2 separate regions of the Homo sapiens genome follow, and region 1 is linked to region 2. The links are contacts of gene promoters, found by promoter capture Hi-C in blood cells and fetal thymus (Javierre and others, 2016). All regions are on one chromosome and are shown on one strand. The core of a region is centred on a gene start or on the middle of the fragment in contact, and the rest is flanking DNA. Distances in the headings are between cores, read along the strand shown. Region 1 holds the start of SCN3B (sodium voltage-gated channel beta subunit 3). Region 2 holds the start of OR8D2 (olfactory receptor family 8 subfamily D member 2).

Evidence for each region. Contacts are between HindIII fragments. The CHiCAGO score rates a contact against its expected background, and 5 or more counts as called.
Region 1: a contact is called between the fragment with the promoter of SCN3B here and the fragment with the promoter of OR8D2 in region 2, in 2 of 17 cell types (erythroblasts and total B cells). The highest score is 9.0, in erythroblasts.

The regions. Positions count from the first base shown.
Region 1 is chr11:123,650,276-123,656,734 of GRCh38, forward strand. It overlaps SCN3B (sodium voltage-gated channel beta subunit 3), which reads right to left and starts at 4,349. Exons shown (of 7, transcript NM_001040151.2): 1 at 3,951-4,349; 2 at 3,472-3,551. The coding sequence starts at 3,526. LOC105369543 (a long non-coding RNA gene) reads left to right here and starts at 3,410. Exons shown (of 3, transcript XR_948124.4): 1 at 3,410-3,877. RefSeq lists silencers at 3,733-3,802, 4,363-4,592. The HindIII fragment of the contact is 2,104 bases long and covers 3,097-5,200 here.
Region 2 is chr11:124,314,996-124,321,740 of GRCh38, forward strand. OR8D2 (olfactory receptor family 8 subfamily D member 2) reads right to left here and starts at 5,202. Exons shown (of 1, transcript NM_001002918.1): 1 at 4,267-5,202. The coding sequence starts at 5,202. The coding sequence ends at 4,267. It overlaps LOC112268069 (a long non-coding RNA gene), which reads left to right and starts at 1,065. Exons shown (of 3, transcript XR_002957213.2): 1 at 1,065-1,103; 2 at 3,331-3,411. The HindIII fragment of the contact is 6,670 bases long and covers 1,602-6,745 here.

The DNA.
Region 1 (6,459 bases), core at 3,099-5,598, 670 kb before region 2:
CTTCTCTGATACCCTCAAATCTTTCTCTTCTTTGGACAATGCCCAATTTTTCCTCCTGAGATTGCTCTAGAATGCTTTCCTTTGCACTGAGATAATGAAAAATTTGATTAGAATATAAACAATTTCCAAAAAGGGGTAATAAATGAGGTTATTTTTAGATGCTGACACCCTGACGTGACTTGTTCTGTCAATTTAGCTGGTCACTTAGGGCCTTGAATAGGATGCACGAAAGATCACCAGGGGAAGAGAGGAAAACACACAGGGCAACTAGAAGGGCAGGCCTGGAGAAGAAGGGCAGAGAAGGTACTAGGTGCTAGTGAGTGAGGCCCTAGGACAGGTGATGGTGTTGGGGAGAGATGGGACGGTAGCTCAGAAGAGAAATGGGAGGACAGGTGCCCTCCTGGCGATTGTGCATAGTAGCACATGTGTCCATGAGAGGTGCTAGAAGGAGCACTGGAAGACTGAAATCAGAAAACAAGGGTTCTCTAGCAAGTCCTTTCCCTTCCCCGAGCTCATTTTCTCATCTCTAAACTGGAAATAGCACTCTTTCCCCTGACTACCTCAGGGATAGACATGAGGACCAAAACAAGCAATGTATTGAAAATTACATTGTAAACTGTGATGCACAGGCAAATATAGGGTTTTATTTATTTATTTATTTTAAAGGCTGGGCATGGTGACTCATGCCTATAATCCTAGCATTATGGGAGGCTGAAGCAGGAGGATTACTTGAGCCCAGGAGTTAGAGACCAGCCTGGGCAATATGGCGAGACATCGTCTGTATTAATTTTTTTAATACAATTATTATTATTTTATTGTATTAATTATTTATTGTATTAATTATTTATTGTATTGTATTATTTTTTAAATCTCTTTAAAAAATAAAAATTATTACATGCTTTAACAAAGGAAATAAGGAAACTTTTTTTCATGCATGCAGAAAGTAAATGGAAAGACTCTTTCCCTTCATATTGTACATCATATTAAAAAATCAACTTTGGAAGGGGGAACACATCTAACCCAGCATTATTGTTCAATATTGGAATTGCATGCAAATCAAATGAAATTGTATCTGTGAAGGGCGGCTGTTTTTCTTTCTTTTTTTTTTGATGGAGTCTCGCCCTGTTGCCCACGCTGGAGTGCAGTGGCACAATCTTGGCTCACTGCAACCTCCACCTCCCAGGTTCAAGCAATCCTCCTGCCTCAGTCCCCCTAGTAGCTGGGATTATAGGCACGCACCACTATGCCCGACTAATTTTTGTATTTTTAGCAGAGATGGGGTTTCGCCGTGTTGGCCAGGCTGGTCTTGAACTCCTGACCTCAGGTGATCCACCCGCCTCGGCCTCCCAAATTGTTGGGATTACAGGCGTGAGCCACTGCGCCTGGCGAAGGGAAGCTGTTTTTCTTACAGTTAACAACCAAGTGTCCTGAACCACTTCTCTTTCCCTTCCACAGCTTTTCAGTTTGGTGAGACAACACTCAGTTTGCAAAGAAACTGAGAATGGGCAAAGATGGGCATACTGTGTACACTTCTTCCAAAGTTTTTTGGGGTCGGGGAGGGGATGGGCACTCTGTCAATTCTAGCAATATTCTTCAAAGATTTCTCTACCATTCATCTGTGGAGCTGAAAAGGATGTTAGATATCACCCGTGCCAACTTCCAAACATTACACAGAAGGAACCAGATAGCACTTTAAGGTTGTTATATAGTAAGCTAGTGGCAAAGCTGAGACTCCAATGCAGGTTGCACAAGTTCTAGTTAAAAGATTCTTGGATGATAGCATGTTCTCTCCCTCCACTGGAATTCAGGCAGGGATCTCAAAATCTTAGATTAGAGTTCAGGAAGAAAGTCTCTGCAGAGTCTCACTCCAACCCTTATCCACAACTTCAGCTTTACCGACGCTCTTTTTATCTGGCCAGGCTAACATCTTCTAAGCCTCGTGTCCTCAGCCTTAGCCTCCCCTGAGAAAATTTCAGCCTTAATCTTCAAGGCAGGTGAGATCATTGGCAACATATTATAGCTGCTCCATCTCCAGGTCTGGTCTACTCTACTGGGGATGGCTGGTGATGAGTCCGCCTTTGGGGCTGACATTACCTCCCTCCTCAACCTTCCTAGTCCGTCTCATCAGGCATTTTGACAGGAAGCTTGGCTCTGCCTCTGGTCACATGCAAAATCCAGATAATGCTGGCAGCTAGAGTTAGTCCTGGAGGCTTGAAAAAGTAATACTAAAGCAAAGAGGCAGCTCCCATCAGCATGTCTGCCACCGTATAGGCAGGATGAGTTTCATGCCAACCATGGGAACATAAGCTCACATGCCTCGTTTCAGGGAGGCAGGTGGGTACAATTGTGTCCAATTACCCTGTGTATTGATTTTTGCACGGAGAAAGGTAGCTAAGATCATGTAAAGCAATCTGTCTGCTGAAGAGAACCTATATTTTATCTGAGGATCTAATCATAGACACCAAGGCAGACATGCCCAGAACTACCACCCCCACCCCTGCCATACACATACTACTACACTCACCCATGCATTCAGATGTCTATGCCAACATGCTCACACACATGCTAGTGCACACATCCAGACACTGAAATATATTTACATACAGTAAAACATTGTCTCAATCACACAATCAGACATTATCACATAGATCAATCCCCTTTACACACATTCAGGCACTCCAAGACCGTCTCTGACACTCTCTTCAGCCTTTACTGTTCCAAGTGTAAGATTCCCTTATTTGGAGGGGGAAGGTCACCTCAGTTTCTCACAGCTGACAAGCAAGAATCTATTCACCTTTGAAGGCAAAAACCCAGCTCTCCTCCCCTAACACCAAAGCATCTTAGTTCCACAGGTTCATGCAACAAACAAACAAACCAAAAAAAAAAGAAGAAGAAGAAAAAGAAAGATGCATTTCACAGTTGCCTATTTATTTAATATATAGCAGTAAATGGCTGAAGGCTGTTTTCTTCCCATTCCTTGTTAAAATTAAGAAGATGATGAGCAACTAAAGTATTTTCACTCTCAAAATTCATGCATCCAGCTTTTATGGTTTTTTTTTTTTTTTAATATACAGAAACGAATTTGAAGACCCAGTAAGCTTTCCAGGAGTATAGACTCCTTGATGAGAAATAAAATGTAACCACACAGGAGGTTTTTATTCGTGAACGTGACTGCATTTCCTTTCAGCAAAGGGAAAGGGAAAAAATACTTTGGAATGATCAGGAAACTGGAGGAAGGGCGGAAGAACCACCAAAGGAGGTTGGAGAATAGCGGGGAAGGGCGGTGGGGAGGCGCCTTTCCCATCTCAAAATCCCAGCTCTCATGGAACCCCTGCCATCTCCATGTCTGGCAGATACGCACAGAGGCAAGCCAGCCAGAGCTCTTTTCTGTCACCAACGACATCAATGTGTTATTATTGTTAGCATTGTTACTGTTACCTGCATCCGGCATGGCGAGGTGCTGGTACTTACCCCAGTAGATAAGCACGAGAGAAGCCAGGGGAAACAATCTATTGAAGGCAGGCATCTTCTGGGGCTGGCGGCTTCCAAGGCTACACAGAGAGATTCCCTCGGTCAAGGACTGCGCCCTCTCAGATTCTTTCGAGGAAACCCTTTGGGACGAACTGCCCCCAGGGGGCGACTTTCTGACCGAAGGAAGGGCCGAGCACCGGTGCCTGGGGAGGCCCTGGGAGCTTTTGGAGCCGGGTGGGGGCTTTGGGCCCTAAGCGACCCCACTGGACCTCCCCAGTTCGAGGGAGCCGATCAGCCGCTCCGCGCCCGCTCTCGCCGGCGCTCAGCACCACGGACAGTCGCCTCCCCGCCCACCCCGGAACTCCAGCTTCCACTCGCGCCCCTGCCTCGCTCGTTTGCGCCCAGGGTAAGCTCAGCTCGGAAGGGAGTCGCACTGCTGGCCTAGCAGCCAGGCTGTGGAAGGGTCCAGGTTGATTCACCTCTCGCCTCCCCAGGATCGGTTGCGTTCCGACTGGAATCCTCCCAGCCCCGCGGCTCCTGCTTCGTCCGCCCTAACTGCTTCTCCAGCTGGGCGTGACCCCACTCCCGAAGCCGCCGGGGCCGCCCGTCTGGGCTACAGAATGCGTTCCACGTCGGTCCCGTCCACGCCCGCCCTCGGCTCCCTGGGGAGGTGCAGCGGGGCCGGGAAGGAAGCGGCAGCTCCCGTTCGGCCGGCGATGTCAGAGGTTGGGGGGTGGGTGTAGAGGCGGAGCCCCTTCCCGGGAGCTCGCCCCCGGATGGTGCGGGGCCCCGACCCTGGGTGGCAGGTGATCAGCAACCCTTCTCTAGGCCCCCAGGCCGTGTGTGCTGTCAGCCCTGACATGCGCAGGCGGCTCTCCGCCACCACCACCGCCCCGGACCCTCCCCCTAGTGCACACTCCCCACCCCCTGATGGGCGTGCCCCTCCCAGGCCCAGCGCCGCGCCGAGCGGGGGCGGAGCCGGGAGCGGCGCAGACACTTCCAGCCGGGATATCTTTGCTCGCGCGCTCGCTGGTCTCTCCAGGTCTCCCTCTCGCGCCTCCGCACCTCCCCCGAGCTCGGGCGCACCGCCGCCCTCGGCTCACGCCCTCCAGGCAAACCCACTCCGCTCCCGCACGGACTTGCCGGGTGTAGCTCCGGGAAGAGAAGGGCCAGAGCTCTTTCAGGCAATGATGTCATCTGCAAGGCGCGCCGTACGCGGTTCCTGGCTTCGCCTCCCAGACCCCATGCCTTCCAGTTCTCGCTGTCTATCCTTTGTCTAGCCTTGATTAATTGGCCCCGGACACAGCAAACTCAGCAAGATAATCCCTGTTTAGGGCAAATGGGGTAGGGATGAGGCGCACCTGTTCCTGTCTTCACCTCATCACTCAGTGAGGTGATCCAAATGTCAGCGCAAGGGGAGGGGGGCCCAAGAGGACTCCTCTTCCCTTCCCCAGGTTCTTTGCAGTTCTCCCTTTTCCTTTAATTACTCCTTTTTAATAAAGCAGATAGATTGTGTTTGGCGTCTTCCAACTATTAGCCACTCCCTAGTCCTAGCAGCTGTTTGAGTGCCCCCGCCCCATCTCTGGAAGGGAAACCTGAAACTTTACATTCAACTATAAACTCAAATTGACATAACAGATTAGGAACGCCTGGAACTGAAGTAAAAGAGTAATCCAAGAGCCCTTCTTCAGCTTCCTTTTTCTCCTCTTCTGCTCTTTCCAAAAGGGGAAGCTTAACGCTGATATTCCAAAATGGAATAACAGAGCAACAGCTGACGGTGAGTGGACCAGAAGCAGGAAATGCTCCCTCCTGACATCTCACAGAGTAACAGAATGTCCCCAGTCGGATCTTCCTGGGCAGGGAGCCACCAGGCCATAAACTCTGTGCTGTTTGGAGGACTAGGCCTTGAAGCATGTATACTGTGTTAAATTTGGATGGGAAGTTAAAGTTGACCTAATTCAACCGCTTTTCCAATTTGTGACTTCCCCCAAGAACATTTCGGACGAATGGACTTGATTTTATTTATTTATTTATTTATTTATTTATTTATTTATTTATTGAGACGGGGTTTTGCTCTTCTTGCCCAGGCTGGAGTGCAATGGCGCGATCTTGGCTCACCGCAACCTCCGTCCCCCGGGTTCAAGTGATTCTCCTGTCTCAGCCTCCTGAGTAGCTGGGATTACAGGCATACGCTGCTACACCCGGCTAATTTTGTATTTTTAGTAGAGATGGGGTTTCTCCATGTTGGTCAGGATGGTCTCAAACTCACAACCTCAGGAGATCCACCCGCCTCGGCCTCCCAAAGTGCTGGGATTACAGGCATGAGCCACCGCGCCTGGCCTTGATCTTTTTAGTGATGAGAACTTTCTACATCACAAGTTCACCTCTTCTGATGCTTAAGGAAGTTCTTTATGTTCAGTTGAATTCCGTACACTCCTCCTCCCCCTCCAAACTCCATTAAGTGGCCCTAATGCTGTTTTCTCTTTAAAAGAGCTATGCTTCCTCACATCCGCCCTAAGACATTTTTGTTTGTGGCTACTCTTCCTTAGTTTCTTCCAATGTATTTTCTAGTAGTTTCCAATCCTGTACCACCCTGGCTGCTTTTTCAGAAGGACTTTCAGTTTCTCAGCATGATTCTCCAAGTGACGTCCAGAACAGGAACTGATGGTCCCTGTGTGGTCTGACCAGCATAAATCCAGTGGAATTATGGCTACATTTGCTTTGAAGGATATAACTAGTTAAATACATTTACAGCCACATCTTAGTCATAATCAGCTTATGTTCAATTAAAATCCCTGAGTATTCTTCACTTGACTTGTTGCAGAGTCATTGTGTCTTGTACAGGCAATTTTGGAAATTTTATTATGAAACTTTGCACTTATTGCTGTTAAAATTTATTAGTTTCAACCAGTTATCACACTGTGTTAATACTTTTATTGAATTCAGATTCAATCACCCAATATATCTCTCTTCTTTACCCTTGTTTCA
Region 2 (6,745 bases), core at 3,952-6,451:
CTTCTACGATCCTGAGAAATATCTTCCATGGAATCTTTTCCACTGAACCAATTTTTAATTACCAGAATTCAGTAATCGTTCAGCCTCTGCTCCTGTACTATTCCCTGTGACTGCAGTTTATGTCACTCAATGGCTTAAAAAGCTTTAATCTATTCCACCCTGTCCAGGGTACCTCCCATTCCAGGTCACATGAGTTCTATGCTTTCCTGATGTAGAGCCACCGTCAAAGGGGATGTAGCTCTTAAGAGCCACCTCAACATTTTTGTATTGGTCCCGCCAGAAATAAACAGGATTTCCCCAGTGACTCACTTCTTTAATGAAGTCAGCTATAAAGCATCCACAGATCTCTAGTAATGTTTACACATAAAAAATATGTTAATATAGTTGATTCAGAACTGGATTTACTCAGTATCTTGTTTTAGTTTCAAATCTGCCCCAATACTAATATCATCAATTATAACAACTACTCCTTTTTATAGTATCATAATTAGTAATACTGCTTATAGATGCTCACTGTGTAGTGGGCATTGAACTAACCATATATATATATATTATATATAATTATATATATAATGTTCATTTAATTAAAATAAATATGTGTCTCTAAGGAAGTCATTGAGACTCTAAGACTTAGATTCCTTATCAATAAAATAATCAGAATTAAGTAAATTATTTTTCAAATTTCTTAGTGCTAGAACTTTTATGATGAGAAAAACTTATACTAGAAGCAGAAGGATTTTTTTTGTAGTTCAACTATTCTTTGATTCAGAATTCATGGTAAAAATGTTTTCAATTTCGTACCAATAATTGTTTATGATGAAAAGAGAGAAATAATCCTGGTTGGCATTTAGGAGACTCAGACTTTTATCTCGGTTTTATAGTTACTATCTGTGGAAAAGGCAATTTAACCTTGTCAAACTTTAATTTTCTCATCTGTAAAATATTCCTCATTTGCCTCACAGGGAAGTCATAAAGTAATATATATTACAAAATGCAGTTTGAGGCTGGACATGGTGGCTCACATCTGTAATCCCAGCACTTTGGGAGGCCAAGGCAGGCAGATCACCTAAGGTCAGGAGTTTGAGACCAGCCTGACTAATATGGTAAGACCCCATCTCTACTAAAAATACAAAAATTAGGCGTGGTGGCAAGCACCTGTAACCCCAGCTATTCAGGAGGCTGAGGCAGAAGGATCGCTTGAACCCGGGAGGCGCAGGTTGCAGTGAGGGAGATCATGCCACTGCACTCCAGCCTGTGACAGAGAGATTCCATCTCAAAAAAAAAAAAAAAAAAAAAAAAGCCATTTTAACTGGAGCGAGATGATATTTCATTGTAGTTTTGATTTGCATTTTTCTGATGATCGGTGATGTTGAGCACCTTTTCATATACATGTTGTCATTCTTATGTCTTCTCTTGAGAAATTTATTTCAAATGTTTTGCTCTTTTTAAAATCAGATCATTAGATTTTTCCCATAGAGTCATTTAAGCTCCTTATATATTCTGCTTATTAATCCCTTTTCAGTTGGATATTTGGCAAATATTTTCTTCCATTCTGTGGGTTATCTCTTCACTTTTGTTGATTGTTTCCTTTGCTGTGCAGAAGCTTTTTAATATGATGTAATCCCGTTTGTCCATTTTTGCTTTGGTTGTCTGTGCTTATGGAGTATCCCTCAAGAACTATTTGCCCACTCCAATGTTCTGAGAATTTCCCCAATGTTTTCTTTTAGTAGTTTCATAGTTTAAGGTCTTGTATTTAAGTCTTTAGTCCATTTTGATTTTATTTTTGTATATGGTGAGAGACAGGGGTCAAGTTTCATTCTTTTGCGTATGGATATTCAGTTTTCCAGCATCAAGTATTGAACAGACAATCCTTTCCCCAATGTATGTTGGCTCTTTTGTCAAAAATGAGAATATGTATGGATTTGTTTCTGAGTTCTCTATTCTGTTCCATTGGTCTTTGTGTCTGCTTTTATACAAGTACCATGCTCTTTTGATTACTATAGCTTGTTGTATAATTTGATTCCTCCAGTTTGGGAGGTAATGTGGTTCCTCTAGTTTTGTTCTGCTCAGGATAGCTTTGGCTATTCTATATCTTTTGTGGTTCCACATACATTTTAGGATTGTTGTTTCATTTCTGTGAAAAAATGCCAGTGATATTTTGATAGGGATTGCACTGAATTGGTAGATTGAGTGCAATGGGTAGTATGAACATTTTAACAATATTGATTTTTCCAGTCCGTGAACTTGGAATAACTTTTTATTTGTGTGTGTGTGTGTGTGTGTGTGTGTGTGTGTGTGTGTGTGTTCTCTTTCTTTCATCGATGTTTTATAATTTTCATTGTAGAGATATTTCACTTCTTTGGTTAATTTCTAGGTATTTTATTTGAGTTGTAGGTATTGTAAATAGGATTACTTCTTAAATTTCTTTTTCAGATTGCTCACTGTTGGCATGTAGAAATGCTACTGATTTTGTATGTCAACTTTATATCTTGCAACTTTACTGAGTTTGTTCAGTAGTACAAAATGAATTTAAACTTTTCTGAACAATTTGAACTTCTCTGAAAAGTTCAAAAAGTCCAGAAAAAAAGTTCAAATTGAATTTGAACTTTTCCAAATCAGTTCTAATAGTTTTTTTTGGTGGCATCTTTAGGCTTTTCTAAACATAAGATCATGTCATCTGCAAGCAACGATAACTTGACTTCTTCCTTTCTAATTTGGATGCCCTTTCTTTCTCTTGTCTGATTGCTCTAGTTAGGACTTCCAAACAATTAGTTCTGATTTATGGGAACTTGTAAAGTGGAAGAAAAAGAGAAAGGGAATAAAAGAGATTATAGGAAAGGGGGAGTAGGCATGTTCAGATAGTGGAAAGGATAAAAAGAGATGGAATAGAAAGTATCAGAAGGTGATGAAATGAATGGATCATAAAACCTCAGTGTTAGCAATGAACAAAGGGATCAGTTTGGTCATATTCTTAGCCAGCATTTGATTCTTCTCAGAAATATTCCAGACAGAATGGTTGAATATTCTGTCTGGAATATGTACTTAAATCCCTACTGCTGGATAGTTCATAAATTCCCAAGATAGCTAATTATTTTTTGATAGTTCTGATTTTTGGAAGAGTCTTCTTTAGCCTACTTGTGCTCTGTGGCAAGAACTACTAAAACCTCAATAACTAGCCTACAGCCCTTCTGTGTGTAACTCCTATGTGTAACTTAATTATCCTCTAATATCTGTGAGCAATTTCTATCCTCTTGGCTTTATTTTCTAAGACATTTTATGATCTGAGATTCTATGATGTATTTTTCTCCCTGTTTATTGCCTTTCTTTCAGGCTAAAACCTAAATCTAATGAAGGCAAGGAGTTTGTGACTTTTGTTCATCTCTTTATCACCAGTATGAGGAATAGTGACAGGTATGTAGTGGGCATTCAATGAGTATTCCTTAAATGAATGACCCAAAGAATAAACAAATCAATGAATGTGTGATTTCAAGTTGCTTCATCATGGCCATGCGTCTCAGAATATATTTCAGAATGCCAGTGGCCTCTTAAATAGTAATATCAACAAAGTAAATTACTTTCAAGTGGACACAGTCTAATTGCTGTTGTGCAAGTGATAACTAGAATGTTCCTCATTCTAAATACTAAAATGTAGCTAATGCAGACAAGGTAACAGTAACTTTCTAGGTAGTTATGCTTTTTACTTATATTGTCAAAAATCCTTAATTCTCTGGAGTTAAATAAAGTTTTTCCCACTCTCTCCATTTTTATAGAAGTATAGAATCTTATATTACCCATGTACATTTTTAAAATCTCATTAAATGCGACTATCACTCCAGCCTTTAAAAGTCTTTGTGAATCATGCTCTGTCATCCATTAAATCAACTATTTCAAGGCTGAGGATCGTGACTCAGGCTTCTAATTCCAGCACATTGGGAGGCCAAGTTTGGAGGATTACTTGAGGCCAGAAGTTCAAGACCAGCCTGGGCTTTCAAAAGTAATATGTTCAATAAATTGTTTTTAATGTTTATTTGCCCTTCCTCTTCTGTCATCTCCCATTTCTCTAATACATTTTCGAAGATTATATTGACCATCAGAAAATTTTGTTTCATAATCTCCAAAAATGTCTTAATCATTCTCTAATATAAAATATACATTTTTAAGTGATGATAATTTTTCTCTCTCCGAGAGAGACAGAAACTTACAAAGATCCTATAACAACTTTTTATATGGTTTATTTTTTCTGGCTGCCAATGAGAACCCTCTTTGTCAGGATGACTGCCTTCCCCTAGTCATCTTCTTCAGTGCATTTTTCACATCCTTGTTCCTCAGGCTATAGATTAGAGGATTCAGCATGGGGATTATTGTGATGTAGAACACAGAAGACACCTTCTCTTTTTCCATAGTAGTGCTGGAAGGGGGCTTGAAATACATGAATGTTATAGACCCAAAAAAGATGCCCACAGCCAAGAGATGGGAGCTACAAGTGCCAAAGGCTTTGGATTGCCCCTCAGTGGAATGAATACCAAGGATACTAGAGAAAATGAAAGCATAAGAGATAAGGACCGCCAGTGTAGTTGCTAAGGTATTAACTCCTCCAATAATGAACAGCAGAATCTCATTGATGTGGGTGCTGGAGCAAGACAGAGTCAATAAGGGGAGAATATCACAAAAATAATGACTGACCGTATGAGACCTACAGAATGACAACACTGACATGCGGGTAGTATGGACTGTGGCCCACAGAAAACCCAGTGAGTATACCACAGCCATCATTATGGAACAGACCCTGTGGGACATGACAATATTGTAAAGCAGTGGGCGACAGATAGCAACATAACGGTCATATTCCATGGCTGTCAGAAGGTAGCCTTCTGCAATTACAAAAATAAGGAAGAAATAAAGTTGAGTAATGCATTCCAGAAAGGAGATAATGTTCTCCTCTGGAACAAAGTTCACCAGCATCTTAGGGGTAATGACAGAGGAGTAGCAGAGATCAATGAAAGACAAATGACTGAGAAAATAATACACTGGAGGGTAAAGTTGAGAACTGAGAGCAATTAAGAAGATCATGCCCAGGTTCCCCACCACTGTGACCACATATATTCCAAGGAACAGGAGGAAGAGTGGCAGTTGAAGTTCTGGGCGTTGTGTCAAGCCTGCCAGGATAAACTCAGCCCCTGAAGAATGGTTTGAAGTAGCCATGTCTTTTAAGGTATTATGTGTAATAAGAAATAAGAGAAAAGAGAGACATTAGATTTATTTTCTGATTCCCAAAGCAGAATGACATGCCCCATGTTGGTTGCTTCCATTCCTGAGAGCCTCATCTGTCCCATGATTGCCTCTTTTCAGGGACCTCTTACAAGATCAAGGGCAAATATTATGAGTATAACCAAGAACCTTGATTTCACCCAAAACCCTGTTGAATGCTCCTCTTTTAGTAAGAGTCCTCCCATTTTGTTTCCAGGCTTATGCCCATAATTACCTCACTGCTGGAGGAAGCACAAACTTTCCAAATCTAATTAGTTTGTCATTGCTACCATTAAAACAACACTGCTTACCTTCTTTATCTGAGCATATGCCAATAGAACCTTCAGACTTTGTTACAACATGGCTTCTAATCCAGCTCTGATGATATAAAAGTAGTCCATTTCAGTTTCCTTACCCATCAACATGAATCAACATAATTAGCATTTGCTAAAACTAGGAAATAAGAAACATAAAAGACGTCTATAAAGAGACCTTAGTACAAAAAAAAAAAGTATGGAAATGGTTCTAATCAATTCTGACCCTCATTAGCTCACTTCTGTTCTTTGAATGGAAAACTTGAGTGGGCCAGGAGATTCTTGTACTCAGTGTGGATGTGGTTGACAGAAATGTTGTGCCAAGGGCTATCCTGAGATTCTAGTTTAGATCTTTCCTGTTCCAGAAACAGCAAAGAAGCAAAGAAGTAAGGCTGACTTTCAGGTGTAAGACCTGAACCATCAGCAACTCAGCGCTTCCCTCCTTGGCCCTTTCCTGCTATCCATTATTCATGGCCAAACTCTCACTGACCTTTCTCTTTCAAAGCTGTGAGATCTGAACTGGAGATTTCTTATTCCCTGACTTCGTTTCCCCTAAAGTTTAAGCAAAGGATTCAGGGTGTGTTGCTTTCAGCTGAAACACTGTATATTACCTAAGACATCAGGTTTCATAATTTTTTTCCAAAGTGAGAAAAAATGTCAAGGGAGGAAAAACTCCATACATAGAGTGAGATGTTGTTTGCTTTTATTTTGCATAAAAACATATTTTTATGATCACAAACAAAAATTTATAAAAATTTGCTTCTACAGTGTTTTAAGGGTACTCAATATGTATATCGATTTAAAAGCTGACAGGTGGGGTGTTATCTCCAAGAGCACTTGAGAAGACAGCCATGTTTCTGAATTAGGGGAATTAGAGAATACTCTAAGAGAAAGAGAATCAGAGTTACCAGAATGCAACTCTAACAAGCCCTGTTACGGGAAGTTCAGGAATTCTAGATTTTTAGCCTTACTTGGAAAAATATTCTACCAAATGACTGAATTAGCCAAAAAGAGAATTTGTTGAAGAAAAATAGCAGAGAGCTTATTTAGAGAGAGACAGTACACTCTGGAAAGGTGAGACAGAGCTGGCTGCTGAAGGGGAGTGAGCCAGCAGCAGCTTGAGAGTTCTGCACTGGGTTTTTGAGATGATGTCCGACACTTTCTTGAAGTTCCCACCTCTGTCG